Regions from separate parts of the Homo sapiens genome. Here all the other regions are linked to region 1. The links are contacts of gene promoters, found by promoter capture Hi-C in blood cells and fetal thymus (Javierre and others, 2016). All regions are on one chromosome and are shown on one strand. Each heading gives the region's core, a stretch centred on a gene start or on the middle of the fragment in contact. The rest is flanking DNA. Distances are from core to core; before and after follow the strand shown. Region 1 holds the start of AMPH (amphiphysin). Region 2 overlaps TRG-AS1 (T cell receptor gamma locus antisense RNA 1). Region 3 overlaps AMPH (amphiphysin). Region 4 overlaps AMPH (amphiphysin). Region 5 overlaps AMPH (amphiphysin).

What was found. Contacts are between HindIII fragments. The CHiCAGO score rates a contact against its expected background, and 5 or more counts as called.
Region 2: a contact is called between a fragment that was not itself captured here and the fragment with the promoter of AMPH in region 1, in 3 of 17 cell types (total B cells, naive B cells and M1 macrophages). The highest score is 5.3, in total B cells.
Region 3: a fragment that was not itself captured here is called in contact with the fragment with the promoter of AMPH in region 1 in 6 of 17 cell types (M2 macrophages, total CD8 T cells, total B cells and 3 more); the score reaches 5.8 in M2 macrophages.
Region 4: a fragment that was not itself captured here is called in contact with the fragment with the promoter of AMPH in region 1 in 8 of 17 cell types (megakaryocytes, M2 macrophages, M0 macrophages and 5 more); the score reaches 7.2 in megakaryocytes.
Region 5: a contact is called between a fragment that was not itself captured here and the fragment with the promoter of AMPH in region 1, in 2 of 17 cell types (endothelial precursors and M2 macrophages). The highest score is 6.2, in endothelial precursors.

Annotation. Positions count from the first base shown.
Region 1 is chr7:38,629,927-38,632,721 of GRCh38, reverse strand. It overlaps AMPH (amphiphysin), which reads left to right and starts at 1,349. Exons shown (of 21, transcript NM_001635.4): 1 at 1,349-1,439. The coding sequence starts at 1,371. The HindIII fragment of the contact is 9,553 bases long and covers 1-2,795 here.
Region 2 is chr7:38,378,254-38,381,048 of GRCh38, reverse strand. It overlaps TRG-AS1 (T cell receptor gamma locus antisense RNA 1), which reads right to left. Exons shown (of 4, transcript NR_040085.2): 4 at 2,409-2,795. Among named protein-coding and RNA genes, the nearest start is that of TRG-AS1, 38 kb to the right of the region's middle. The HindIII fragment of the contact is 2,106 bases long and covers 493-2,598 here.
Region 3 is chr7:38,410,709-38,413,503 of GRCh38, reverse strand. The region is part of intron 17 of AMPH (amphiphysin); the gene reads left to right. Among named protein-coding and RNA genes, the nearest start is that of TRG-AS1, 71 kb to the right of the region's middle. The HindIII fragment of the contact is 3,412 bases long and covers 1-2,795 here.
Region 4 is chr7:38,430,761-38,433,555 of GRCh38, reverse strand. AMPH (amphiphysin) reads left to right here. Exons shown (of 21, transcript NM_001635.4): 13 at 1,344-1,367. Among named protein-coding and RNA genes, the nearest start is that of TRG-AS1, 91 kb to the right of the region's middle. The HindIII fragment of the contact is 715 bases long and covers 1,073-1,787 here.
Region 5 is chr7:38,447,832-38,450,626 of GRCh38, reverse strand. The region is part of intron 11 of AMPH (amphiphysin); the gene reads left to right. Among named protein-coding and RNA genes, the nearest start is that of TRG-AS1, 110 kb to the right of the region's middle. The HindIII fragment of the contact is 1,999 bases long and covers 457-2,455 here.

The DNA of each region.
Region 1 (2,795 bases), core at 100-2,599:
GACTGGAATTACCATGGCGTCACTTTCACCACATCTTATTGATTAAAGCTGGCCATAGCATCATTCTAGAATCAAGGTGAGGGGACTACAGGGTGACACAAGAGTGAACACCAGGTGGCAGCTCGCTGAGGTCTACCAATGTAACAGTTTCCCCCAGAGGTACAGTAGGATGCTCACCTGGACTCATAGGATTCACTGTGAGTGACCACTTCTGACCTCTGTTTGCAGGGCACCACCTGACTTCTTCTCCTCACACTCTCAGTGAGAATGGAATATGAATAGTTTGACCACTGGTCAGAGCCAACAAGAGCTCTAGGTGTAGGGCAGGTTTATCCCTATTATTCGTACTTCTCCCAAGCATTAATAAGAATAATAGGGATGGTGAGTCCCTGTTAAGGTTGCCAAAAGGTTTCCAAGGAAGCAACAAGTTAGGGGGGACTGGGTCTTCCATGGTTGATGCGAAGCTATAAGGGACTTGACTGTTCCATGCACCATTTCTTGAAGAGTAGTCTATTCTAAGGTTTCTGCCCAGCACAGGAATTTTGGAGATGACCAAAACACATCGCCTGTCTTCCGGAAGCTGACCTTTCTCAACGCGGACCTCCCCGCCCTGCTAACTCTTGTTTTAAAGTTTAAACAAGTGTCAGCGATGGTCTCTCCCCGCTTTGCTCTCCACACGCCTCTCTCCTGCAGCTCTGACTTCGTTGGTTTCCCAGCCAGGGCCCCTCACTGGGCTGTGAGCCTCCTGAGGGTAGGGCGACCTCCATACCTTCTTCTGCAACACCCAGGGTGTATGGAGGGGCCTCTGTTAGCTGGAAACTTTTGGGAGCAGCAAGGGACCAGCCCCATCAGCTCCACTTCAGAGCAGTTCCAATCCAGCTGGCTTCCACATCCCTAGGGTTCTTCCCTTTTTTGTCTCCCCTATTTCTTTTTTTGCTGGAAAGAATCAGGTCCCCTCACTCTCCCCAAATACAAACTGCATTAAAAGAACCCCCGAGCTGCCCCTGGGCCCAGGGACTTCTGCTAGGCTTGGTTCCCTTTCTCCTCTCGAAACTCTTCTATCATCGAGGAGACAATCTGGCTTCTGGCTTTTCCCTCTCTTTTTCTTGGCCTCTTTCTCTTTCTTCCCCCGCCCCTTCTCCCCATGTCACAGCCAGTCCCGACGCATCCCGCCCCCGCTCTGTCGCTTTAAGCTGGTCCCGCCGCCGCGCCCCGCCCTCACCCCTCCGCGCTCCGCGGCTCCCCGCCGCTTCTCCCGCTCCTCCCTTGCTCGGCCCTCTCCTCCTCCTCCCGCTCCTCCTCCCGCTCCTCCGCGCCGCCGCCAGCCCCGCTGCGCGCTCTGCTCTTCGCAGCTCCCCGGACCCGCAGCCATGGCCGACATCAAGACGGGCATCTTCGCCAAGAACGTCCAGAAGCGACTCAACCGCGCGCAGGAAAAGGTCAGCGGCGGGCGGCCGGGGCTGGGGCCGGGGACGCCAGGCGGGGGCTTGGCCGGAGGGCACCGGCTGCAGCTGTGCGGGGCCCGAGCCTCGGGGTGCGGCGCGCTGCGGAGCGGGGCCGGGGCCAGGGACGCTGGGACGCCCTGCCCTCAGCTCGGTGACTGCCGCAAGGCGCGACCCGGGCGCCGCGGGGAGCGGGTCGGGAGGACGCAGCGCCGGGGACCCGCAGACCCTGGCCCCGGAGACGCCGGATATGTCCAGCTCCGGAGCCGGCCCCGGGTTGCCGCTCTCCTGGCCCCAAGCCAGGCAACAGAAGTAGGAGGTGCGGCAGCTTGCCCGCTGCGCCCGGAGCAGAGCGCATCTCCCTGCGCTCGCATCTCCCCGGGCCGGCTCCCAGCGCGCCCGCAGGCAGCTCGCGGGGACGCGGCCCGCAGATCGGGGCGGGAGATTGCAGCAGCCTTCCTTCTTGCGGGGGATTTTGTGGCTACTTAAGTGCAGCAGACACGAACGATTTAACAGAGAAGCCACCAAAAATCTCCCAGGACCAATAGGGTAGGATCGTGATCACACAGTGCTGTCTGGTGAGTTCTGGAGTTCAAAACAGAGATCTAGATATACACACTTTTAATTTTGGTCTATATGTTTGTGTCCCTTTTGACTCCAGTGTCCTTCTTTAGAAGGTCAAAAATAAATATGACCTGAACCTAATAGTTCCTTTCTGCATATTTCTGCACAAAGAAGGACCTTTTATTGCATTTTAAAAAATCCAGATTGCACAAATTGGGTTCTCTGTTGTTTTGCAAGTCCCTCAGTAAATTGCGCACAGTAATTTATTTTTTTTCCCCAGAGACGTGCATGAATGAAACCCAGGTCCGTAGCAAGCACAGCCCAAAGCAGGTGGAGGGGAGTTGTACCAGGCACCAGGCTTGCCTGGCTTCCCTGGTGACTGCTGTATATGACGGCCCTGAGGTCTTCATTTGTGTCCTGAGCAAAGGACATTTCCTTTATATTGTAGCTTGAGCATTGTACTTGAAAATCAACACCGGCTAATGAGCCCCATGATTGGTATCACTTGAACTGTGTTCTCTTTCACGTGGCAGTATTTTCCGTCCCTAGGATATGGGGTGTTTAGCGTTTTCCTGTTTTACTGGAAGTCAGATTTGCCATGTTGCTCAGGATGGCAATGAATTTCCCTCTTCAGACCCAATCTCAATCTCAGGCTGCCTCCCAGTTCCGGCTGACCATGAGTTGCTGAGCAGAGGGGGCACTGATCCCTTTTGTCCCCAGGCCCAGAGGCTTGGTGGCTGCCTCTAGTCCCTCCCTCCACACATGCACACTCTCCATGCAGTAAGAGGA
Region 2 (2,795 bases), core at 296-2,795, 250 kb after region 1:
ATTGCATGGCTGAACACCTTGAAGCCTTAGAAATAGACTGGCCAATGGATTGGCCTTGATAGGACTCTACTCCTCTTTTCAAAGGAGCCCAACTAACAGCTGCCTTCTGGTTTTTACTTGGAACTCAACTAAAAACCTTACAAACGTGTCAGAACTTGGAGATGAGCAGATCGCACAGCTTTTCTACACAGTGCTGTAGCTACCGTCTTCCTGGTGTGAGACTTTCCTAGGACTTCAGTAAATGGAATCGGACATTTGGTAACAGCACAGAGAAGACAATGACCAATATTCTCTTGGAAGACTTAGAAAATGGAGATCCAGGTGGTTTTGTTCATCTTTGAGCCCTGCAGGTGCATCCCTGTTTGATGATGATCCTGTCCTGAATCACCAGGAGGAGACCGCCTGGATGTTCACGGGCAGCGTTCTTCAAGGCACACAGTAGGGGGTTGATAAGTTGTTCATAAAGCCAAATAAACCATGCGCGAATAAGCTTAATATTCCATCCAAATATTTTGTGACTCATTGGTAATACCTTTTAAGGATCACTTAACAAGCAGCAGCAAATAGTGACTTTTTCCACTTAAAAGATATTTGAGACATAACCCTTACATCTATGCAAATTGAGAGGAAGGCCAGGTAGGTACCCTGAAGCTCTTTCCAAAGAAATCTAAATTTTATCTTTGTTTCCTAAAATCCAGTTAATTCCCAGTCCCCCCGATCTCAGGTCAAACACTCAGGTTGTTTGATTCTTGAGGGTTGGGTCAGAATTGCATGCTTATTTCCCTCCCTGCTGCACTCTGATGCCCTGTAAAACCAGTCCAGCCCAGGAGTGCCTTGTCCATACGCACCTTGCCACATGGCTGATACCCTACACCCTCTCCCACCAGTAAATATTAAACTCTGTGTCATTATGCTCTGCTCTCCAAAACCCTACCAGTGATCACAAAGTGCTGTCTGTGGCATTTGGAGATGCCACCAAACTTCCAATTCTCCCCCAAGATTCCAAGATACGAACTTTCCTTGTTTTCTTACCTCTCTTGTTGTTCCTTCTCTGTTACTGTTCCTAATTTTTTTTCCTCCTTCCTGTGGTTGCTGGAAGTGGGGTGGGGCAATAGCGACCTGTCCTTCAATTTGTGTTCCAGTTGTCCAAGGAATGTTGCCTTTGGAGTGTCCAATTATTGCTTCCAAGTCCACATGTTCATTTGTTCATTAAAATATATCAAGCACCAGCTAAGTGTCAGTTACTGTACATGGGGACCGCATTCATAAGATTTAGACTTCACGCTTGAGGGACTTCCTTCCAAACCCCTCCATGGTGCGTCACTGAGGGGCTCCTCCATTCTTCAGAATCTTGGGCCTGAAGACTTGGGAGCTTCCTTTGTGCATCATTTTCCAGATTTGGGGCACCTGCTATGATTTCCCTGCAAAACATACAACCTTGCACTTTAATCTAGTCGGGGTTCTGTTCTTCACACTGACAGAGAAGACAAATTGGATCCTTGTTGTCTCCCTTGCCACCTGACTTCTTGTCTTCCTCGTACCCTACTGCCCACCCATTTTAAGTACCCAACAGGTCCCCACTCCCTCCTCGCCTCTCCCTCTCAGAAACACATACACAAATGATGAATATCTGCTGCATGTCATACCAGATCCAGGAGCCTCTGCTTGGTCTTCAGAGCTGAACTTCACCTCTTCCCCAGTATTCATCCACTGCCTGCTTCAGAGGCGTCTCCTCAGCACCCCACCCGCCTTCTCCCCCTCAGCTATACACCTTTCTTGCCGTTTTGCAAAACCCCTCTCCTGGGATGCCTTCCCCTCTCCTGTTGGCCTCTAATCCCATCCCCCAGGCGTAGTCCAAGCCCTGTATCCTCAAAATCCCCCGTCCTCTCATCCTTCTACATTCTTTCCACATTTAGAGTAAATATGATACTCCCTAGCCCTTCATTTCCCCTACCAAGAGGCACACTGTCTCCAACCTTCTCTGCATGCTGTATTCACTTCTGGATCTTGTATACTTGTGTGCTGAGTGAACGAACAAGAGGCTGATTGAACGATTAGTTCAGGGAAGTCCAGAAACCCTAATCCCAGGATCAACATGGAATAAAATTTGAAACTGAGTGTGAGAAGAAAATGCAAAATACTTCTGTGATATTGGAGAGGGGAAAGTTTTCTTAAATGAGACTCGGAAACACCCAAAGTATATGGGCAAAAAAAAAAAAAAAAAAAGAGTTTGACTCCAAAATTAAGAATTTATATTTAATGAAAAGATATTTGAGATAGTTAGTTGGTAGACAGATGATAGACTTGCCTAAGATATTTGTACCATCCCAAATTCACAAAGGATAAATGTCTAAAGTACACAAGGATCTCATTCAAGTCAAGAATAAATGAATAATTACTATTATTAGTTTGTTTATATCATTTATATTTATTTATATTTATAATATGGCAATAGTTAATATAATAATAACATTCGTTGACTGTCGTTTGCCATGCATTGCATGTATTATTTTATGTAATCTTTACAAATCTATGAGGTAGTTGCTGTTTTTACTTATTACAGGCAGGGAAGCTAAGATAGAGTTACATGAGGAAGCTTTCTCAAAGTCACACAGTCAATAAATGGCAGGGCCAGGCTGTGCCCCAGGCAGGCTGGCTCTAACATAAGTCCTAACTCCAGCCTCCTTGTTGGTATGTTTAGAGGACATGAAAGGTAATTCACACTTCAGTGAATACTAAGTATAAAAAAGAACCTCAGCTTCCTAATAATCAGACCTGTGCCATTTTTTTTGTTT
Region 3 (2,795 bases), core at 159-2,658, 220 kb after region 1:
ATGCCCATCAAATTCTAAGTCATTGATTTGTTAGTTAGTTGACAGTGCAGTCTTGGGGTCCTTAAAGGGGCTGCAGTTTGATTTCTTAAAGTACAAATATGTATATGGTCATTTTCCTTCTCTTTTTTTTTTCATTCAGATACTTTGGCTTTTTTTATATTTAGGAAAAGCAAGCCAGTTATTATGATCAAAAGCAATGTCAGTTTTTTCATTCTGCCCCACAGCTCTGTGACACCTAAGCCCCACTTACCTCAAATATAAAATGGAGTTAATAATAATCACCTTAAAAGTTTCCCATGAGGGCTTAGAAATAAAACATGTTGTCAGTTTCAACATCTGTCGTGCAGAGGTTATTAGTTAATGACAGTTTGGTGATATCATTATTGTTATCATCGTCATGAAAAGTTGGTGAGAAGCAAATAAGCAGAAGCATGTGAAATATGTACTCTGGGGAGGAGAAAGCAGCAGAGGCAAAGATAACAGCCCCCTCTTCCAGTGTTGCCTCATGTCAGAAATGGCAATGGACCCAGTCCCTGTTAGATCTCCATCAACACAAATTTCCATGTGGTTCCCAAACAAGCTGTGTCCCATCAAAATTCTTTGTCCTTTCTAAGAAGACTTCCCCTTTTCCAGGCACCTTCATACTCAGTGAATGAATAGGGAATTTTTCTATCTTCATTGCCCAGGAGATGTGAGTATTCAGAGAACTGGCAGTGCCCTCTCAGCTGCGTCCTCCTTCCATGTGGTTGTAGAAGGAAAAAGAAGGGCAGATGATCTACAAACATGATACATCCAAATCTGATACAAGTAACTGAACCTAGATCTTTCTCTCTGTCTTTGCAGGAAGTCATAGGGAAGAGATAAAATTAGCCAAGAATAAAGTGAAAGTAACAACACAGTGATCAGTTCCCCCAACCTCACAGAGCAGGTTGATCTGGGTTTGTAGGTGGCCATCTCTGAAATATGGGGCCACTGCTGTTTTGAGATGTGGCTGATATTAAGTATTCATTAACCACCTACCAACTGCTAGTAGCGGCATCTTCCCTGCCTTCTGGAGTGTGATTTCCAAAGCCCCATCTCAAACAGGGCCAAGTGAGACTTTTTAATAAATGTCATTGTTTATTCAGAGTGTTGTTATAAATCTATGTGAACATGAACTCAAGATTCAGGTTGTTCTTCCACTATTGAGGAGCCATTTTTAGGTGATAGATGCCCAGTGACTTTTAAGTATTACTTTTGGCATGTACTTTTCTTCTGAGGTGAAATTCACATAAAATAAAATTAACCATTTTCAAGTAACAATTAACTGGCACTTAGTACATTCACAGTGTTGTACAGTCATCACCTCTATCTCGTTCCAAAACATTTTCATCACCTCAAATCACAGCCCCATAGCCATTAAGCAGTGACTCCCATCTTCCCCTCCCCAGGCCCTTGGTACCTGCCAATGTGCTATGGATTTATCTATTCTAGAGAGCTGATATAAATGGAATCATACAACACATGATTATAAGATGGTTTTGTGTCTGCCTTGGTGTATACTTTTTGTCACATACTAAATCTAGAGCTTTAGCTTGATATATTTAATATGACTAGTTATCATTAGCTTCAGGATAAGAAACTCTTATTCTGTCTTCTGAATATGTATTGGGCCCAATTCATAATCCCTCATTGAAACCATTCCTGGTCATCAACACAATTGGGTAGCCTATGTAAGACCAGACCCATTCAGATGTTAAAAAGACAACTCTGTTGAGATAATAAAGCCCCACCCCAATATGAAGCCCAGTCCCACCCCAGAAATCAGAATTTAGACCTACAAGAGCCTTACAGATGTGTTCTACTTACTGGCTCACTCCTCTTCCCCTACAGGTGGCAGTGTTGGGATTTGTTTAGTCCATGGATAATATGGAACCAACCCCCTAGACCATGTGTGCTGAGTTCTCATTCACTTCTTGCCTGTTCCTGTTCTGTCCATCCCTCACCTGCACGATAGAAAGGCCCTTGCATGAATCCCTCCTGCTAGCCCTCCACAGACATGAGCTGGACCTTAAACATGATCAGGAAAAAGTGCTTGATTTGAGATTAGAGATCCCTTCCTTTTCCCCAGCAAGTTGCCTTGTGTTCCAGCATCGGTGCTCAAGCAGTTCAGATACTGCCTTTGAGGACTACTGTGTGTGTCCTGAAATGAAGGAGTATGATCAAAGAGAGTAAGGTGATAGTAAAGAAGGCCATACTGTGATAAGAGATACTAGGGAGCAGTAGCATTGTCATGCATTCTCTCACAGCAGTCCCGTGAAATAGGATTATTTAGGCATCAGGTCCCTCGTTTTACAGATTAAGAAAACGGACACAAAGAGATTAATTGATTAACCAAGATCACACATCTAGAAAGTAGTGACATGTGATTCAAATCCTGGTATTTTAAGCCATAGCTGTCTATCTCCTGACTACTCCAGATGCTTTTAAAAAGAGGAGGTTTTATAAAAATATATTTATCAACACGTCTCATATCACATCTAACTAAAGCCGTTAGGGTCACAACTTAGGGTCCAAGTGGACACAAAGACTTCCCACAACGAATGCTTAGACTTGATGGATGTTCCTGGTTTGTGGCTGAGGAGTTGAAATGAAACAGAAACTCTGTGCAGCCTCAACCTTGAGCTTCTCAGAGATAATGTGTGTCCTAATCCTCCACTTTGGCGGCAAAGCAAATTTCAAAGGGGATGTATTTGAAAGACCTTGAATTAGGAATATGGGGAACTAACTGCATGGTCAACCAGTGAAGTGGCCTT
Region 4 (2,795 bases), core at 181-2,680, 200 kb after region 1:
GACGGGGTTTCACCGTTTTAGCCGGGATGGTCTCGATCTCCTGACCTCGTGATCCGCCCGCCTCGGCCTCCCAAAGTGCTGGGATTACAGGCGTGAGCCACCGCGCCCGGCCATGATCTTTGATTCTTAAGTGGCTATGAAGCAATGAAATGAGAATCATCTAGATAATCAGAAAACATATATTAGATCCATGTACAAAAAACTGTGGCTTTCCATGGAGCTGTTCTCTCCTGTCTTAGTCATCCTACGAGAAAATGCTAAGCAAGAGACCAGGCAGGCTGCATGGAGATGCAAGGCAGGCCATGCAGAACGGTTAGAATGGGACCCAACCAGGTGGGTGGGTATCAGAACCACAGGGCCTGCTTTCTATAATACGGAGCCCAAATGAGGCCTCTGCAATCTCAACCGAAAACCATCATATTTTTAAGGTGGCAATGCCAGGCTCTCTAGTTTGCTGTTGACATTTAGTAGTTCAAAATAAGTGCATAAACGTGGATCCATTCTAGTCACAAAGACATGGGCATAATCGGATGTGGCTTTAGCAGCAATTCTCAATCATAAAGGAAATAAGAAAGAGAAGTCTTCCCTGCTCCCCTCACCCATAGTGGAAGCCATTTGAACCATCTGGCCTCACTCCCCGGGATTCATAAGCTTTATAATTAAAATACCAGTAGTAAGTGTAATTCATTCATGTCTTAGGGGGTGCTCTGCCAATTTGTATGATTACCAATTCATTGAGCAGTGTGTTATCATCTAATTTAACATATTGAAGAACTATTTTTCTGGGGCTCATTTACCATTAAGCTGGTCATCCTACATCCTCTTGAATGAGATGGGAAGGAAATAGCATTAGCAGTGATTAGGGCCTGCATTTCCTCAAAGATGTGACAAGCTCTAAAATTTGGACACCTTGTTTACTTCATTTTAATGAGGTGTGTGTGTGTGTGTGTGTGTGTGTGTGTGTGTGTATTAAAATAACCTCATTTGTGTTTCAAATATAGTTTTCTACTCACATAGTGAAAGTTGAGATTGATTAGACCTGTGCTATCCAAAGCTAAGTGCCATTTAAGCTTATATTAAGTATAATACAATTATGTAAAATTTAAAATGTGGTTTTGTTACCCTAGCACATTTCAAGTGCTCAATAGCCACATGTGACTGGTGGCTACCATACTGGATAAGCACAGATATGGATCATTTCCTTCACCAAAAAAAGTTTTATTGAACAGTACTGTACAAAATGCTTAAAAAATGCTTATGATTTCAAGAACTTTTGTCACCTCAGCATTTTTTTATGTTTTAGATTTGTATAACTAACAGTATTTTTGTTTATTTGCTTTCAGACATTGCCCTGGGACCTATGGACGGTAAGCCACTAATAACTCTGTTTTTTCATGTATCTTGATCCCCAGAAATTTGGAAACCTTGTTATATTTTATTTCATTTGCAACAGAAAGAAGACACATACATTTAATGATGATATAGTCCCCTAGAATGATCATTAGGCCACTGAAAGTCTTGAGCATTATCAGAACCGGAAGATGATGGTGAAGGAAGAGTACAGTGGACCAGACTCCTGGGTGAATAATGGTCAATAATTTGAATAATGGTCAAGAGTTTGGCCCTTTGTTTCTTTCTGTGGTGGTTGGTGGCAAAAGGAGCTGTTGCAGTGAAGGACACACACACTTAAATAGAAGACAAGGAAAGTGTGAATGAGAAAATGGAAGAGATGGGCTACTTGGCACATGGTACCATTTTAAAAAAAAGTGATTGTATTCAATGAAGCTTGGGTTAATAAGAACTTGAGTTTTAGAGCCAGATAGCCCTGGATTTTAGTCCAAACTCTACTACTCATAACCTTGAGACTTTGAGCAATTACTTTTTTTTTTTTTTTTTTTTAAGACGGAGTCTCGCTGTTTCATTGAGTGCTGGAGTGCAATGGCACTGTCTCGGCTCACTGCAAGCTCCGCCTCCCGGGTTCACACCCTTCTCCTGCCTCAGCCTCCCAAGTAGCTGGGACTACAGGCACCCGCCACCGCGCCCAACTAATTTTTGTATTTTTAGTAGAGATGGGGTTTCACCGTGTTAGCCAGGATGGTCTCGATCTGCTGACCTTGTGATCTGCCCGCCTCGGCCTCCCAAAGTGCTGGGATTACAGGTGTGAGCCACTGCGGCCAGCCTGAGCAATTTCTAAAACTCTCTAAGCATCATTTTTTTCTCATTTATAAAATAAGGGTAATGATGCCTACCTCGGAAGGTTGTGTGAGGTTTAAATAAGATAATTGTAAAGTATGTAGCATGGTGTCTGGTGTGTATCAATAAAAGGTAGATGTTATTACTGATGTTTTTTCAGCTAATCTGATGTGTAAGGATAACTACTCCATAATTTAGACTTGGGAAAGTGTCACAAACAGAGCTTTGTGGTGGTCTCATTGGTGCTGTGAAATTAGGTGATTGGTCACACACCTCTACAGCCTCATATCCCTTGGAGCAGGGTCTTTGTTTTAGAAAAGCCCTGGTGATGTGGTCTTAAGAACTCAACTTAAGTTGTATGTTTTCTTCTTTTATTGTGAGGCAGAAAAAGGAAAGTTCGATAGATCTAGCTATTCATGGGCAATGCCACTTCTGAATTGACATTGCCACTTTCTTTCTCCCTTCAAAACAAAAAGATGTCTGTCCCTTCCTTCTGCAGTTGCAGGGCTCATACTGCACTCTTTAAGATCCTTGGAGCATCAAGGGAAGTGCTCAAGAAGAGAGATTAAAAATGTCTATTGAAACCACCAATGACTAAGTTA
Region 5 (2,795 bases), core at 207-2,706, 180 kb after region 1:
TGCTCACAACACCTTTGTGGATAGGAGCCCTAGAGTTCCAGAAGCATATAATCGACCGTACACATGGAGTAGTGTTGGGGAGTGCTCCGAAGGGGAGATATGGCAACCAAAGCCCAGTCCTGGTACAGGCTCTCAGGATGCCCTGACCAGATGGCACTGCAGCTGCAGCTGGTCCCTTCTGCCAGAGGAAGACTTAGGAAACTGTAAGAAAGGTGCTCAAAAGCATGACGGTCCCCTTAGATTCAGGGCTTGGGGCAGGGTCCCTCTTTGCCAGAGTCTATCTTTGTGTCCAGTGGCAGAGAGGAAGAAAATATTGCCTGTCTCAGGATTTTTTCATAGCAGATACCCCCAACTATTTTTCCTAAATCTTTCTCCAACTATGATATTGCATATTTTCTCTGATCAAAGATTTCCCCTTTACAAATCCAGAGGAATTATCCCTTGAACATCCAAGCTTATTTCTCCAAGCCCTGCTTATCACGCCATAGGAATGCCTACCATGCTCCCATGCAGACATGAGCACAGCCTTTCAATCCTGAGTGTTGGGACCAATTGAGCACCATTGGCTTTTCTACCCTTATGTCTCTGTTTTCCAGCCTAATACTGCATCTTACTTGTTAAGTTCATTAAATCATGCTGTTTTCCCTAGCCAATTGAACTGAAATAGAATTCAACTTGCAGAATCAGTCCATGAAATGGTTTTTTCACCCATGTAATCCTGAGAGGCCAGCCTGCAGTTATGAACATATGCATCTCTCACTTACTGGGTATCTGTAACCTGGTTCTAAATACCACACTGGCTTTTCAACATAACATATTTCTGGACCAGCTGCCTCTTCTTTCTCTTGCTATTTTTCAAAGTAAACATGTTAACATTATTTTAAGACAGAAAGAATTAGTAAGATGAAAATTAGAAGGAAGAAAAACCACACAGTGCATTTCAAGCCCAAATTTAGTCAGTTCATTGCCCTGGTGGATTACCAACATCATTGTTCCATTCCTTGAGCAGGAGTAACCAAGCAGTGCAGTTTATGTATCATCTGGTATTCTGAAAATGTTTTAAAATCATTGGGTCATTAGGCTTCACTATCTTTCAAGGTTCTGACTCCAGAGCTGCTAACAGTGCCTAGGCTTTTTCTGTCTACAGAACAGGGAAAGCTACTAAATATCTTTCTGCAAGGTCTCATTCAGTTTAACCTTGACATCAATCCTGTGATTTACATGTCATTAGTCCTACTTTCTAGAAGAGCAAACCTGCCGTCTTTCTGCTGAACCTTGCCTCTCCTAGTGCAGAAGTGGAAAGCAGAATGCTGTAGGCTATGTGTGACAGCATTGTAAGCACCCGAAAGAGAGCAGTACCGGGCATTCAGTAAATGAACAAATCGATATCACTCTTTCTATCCTTAGTATCCAGGATGCAGGTTCTCTAGAACTCGTTTGAGTGTTGATATTAGCAAAGTTCTTCAGGTTGTTACATATCAGTGCATTATTGGTAAATACCATGATATAGTGGTAGGAGGGCCTTTACTCAACCAGTTTAGTCATCTGTCTTTCCACTAGTCAGAGTAGAACCTCATTATAAGCATAGGCCCTATCCCTCTTCCTTGCTGACTCTATTCTCATGACTGTCAGCCTTTATACAATTAGTCATAATATATGTAAAAGCAATGAACAAAACCCACGTGCTACACTAGGAATGATTTTGCAGCCTACCAACTTGTTCTAATAAAAAACAAAGTCAAAACAAAACAAAGTAGGAAAACAATTTCCTAGAAGGTCTAGTTTATTGTGTGTCAACTCATTCCTAGAGCATTTCAGGATTATGTAAATATAGGTATGCACATAAAGCAAATGTGAGAGAACAATCGATAGGTCTAGATTGTGAGTAAAGGGATCTGCATTATACTATCCTTTTAATTCTCTGTTCAGCAGTCTCCCCTTATCCACAGTTTCACTTTCCATGGTTTCAGTTACCCATGGTCAACCATGATCCAAAAATACTACATAACAGTAAGATATTTGGAGAGAGCAAGCGAGCGAGAGACTATATTCACATTCACACTACATTCACCTTTATTACAGTATATTGTTATCATTGTTCTATTTTACTGTTAGCTGTTGTCATCAATCTCTTACTATGCCTAATTGATAACTTCAACTTTATCATAGGTATGTATGTATAGGAAAAAACATAGTGTGTATAGGGTTCAGTACTATCTGTACCATTTGTGGTTTCAGGCATCCCCTGGGGATCTTGGAACATAACTCCTCCAAATAAGGAAGGACTAGTATACTACAATAAACTTTGTGGAACAAATACTTGGCAACATCATTTTAAATGACTGAACGATTTTCCATTCTAAGACTGCAATATAAAGCACTTGAACCCTGTCCATGTGCTATATGACTCACATTAACTGTAATGTACCCATCTGGAGCAATCTTGTTATAAGCTTCTAACCACGAAGGTAAACTTTCCTAGGCCACTGCTTCATTGTAATTGTTGATGAAATGCTAAAACTTTACTCACTGTTAGAAATTGTAAATTGTGACTTTTACATGAAAGGTATTTCTATTACATAAAAGATAACTTCTGATTGGCCTTGTTCCTAAAGATTTTATTTAACCTCTCTGTCTTAAGCTTCCTACTCTACCTCTTTTGCCTCATTGGGAAGTCACAAGTGTCCAGCACAATACTTAGGATATAGTAAAGGTTTTCAAAATATGTTTAATGAAAGAATAAAAGATGAAAATCTCTAGAAGAAGAAAAGATGAAAATCTCTATGCCCTCATGG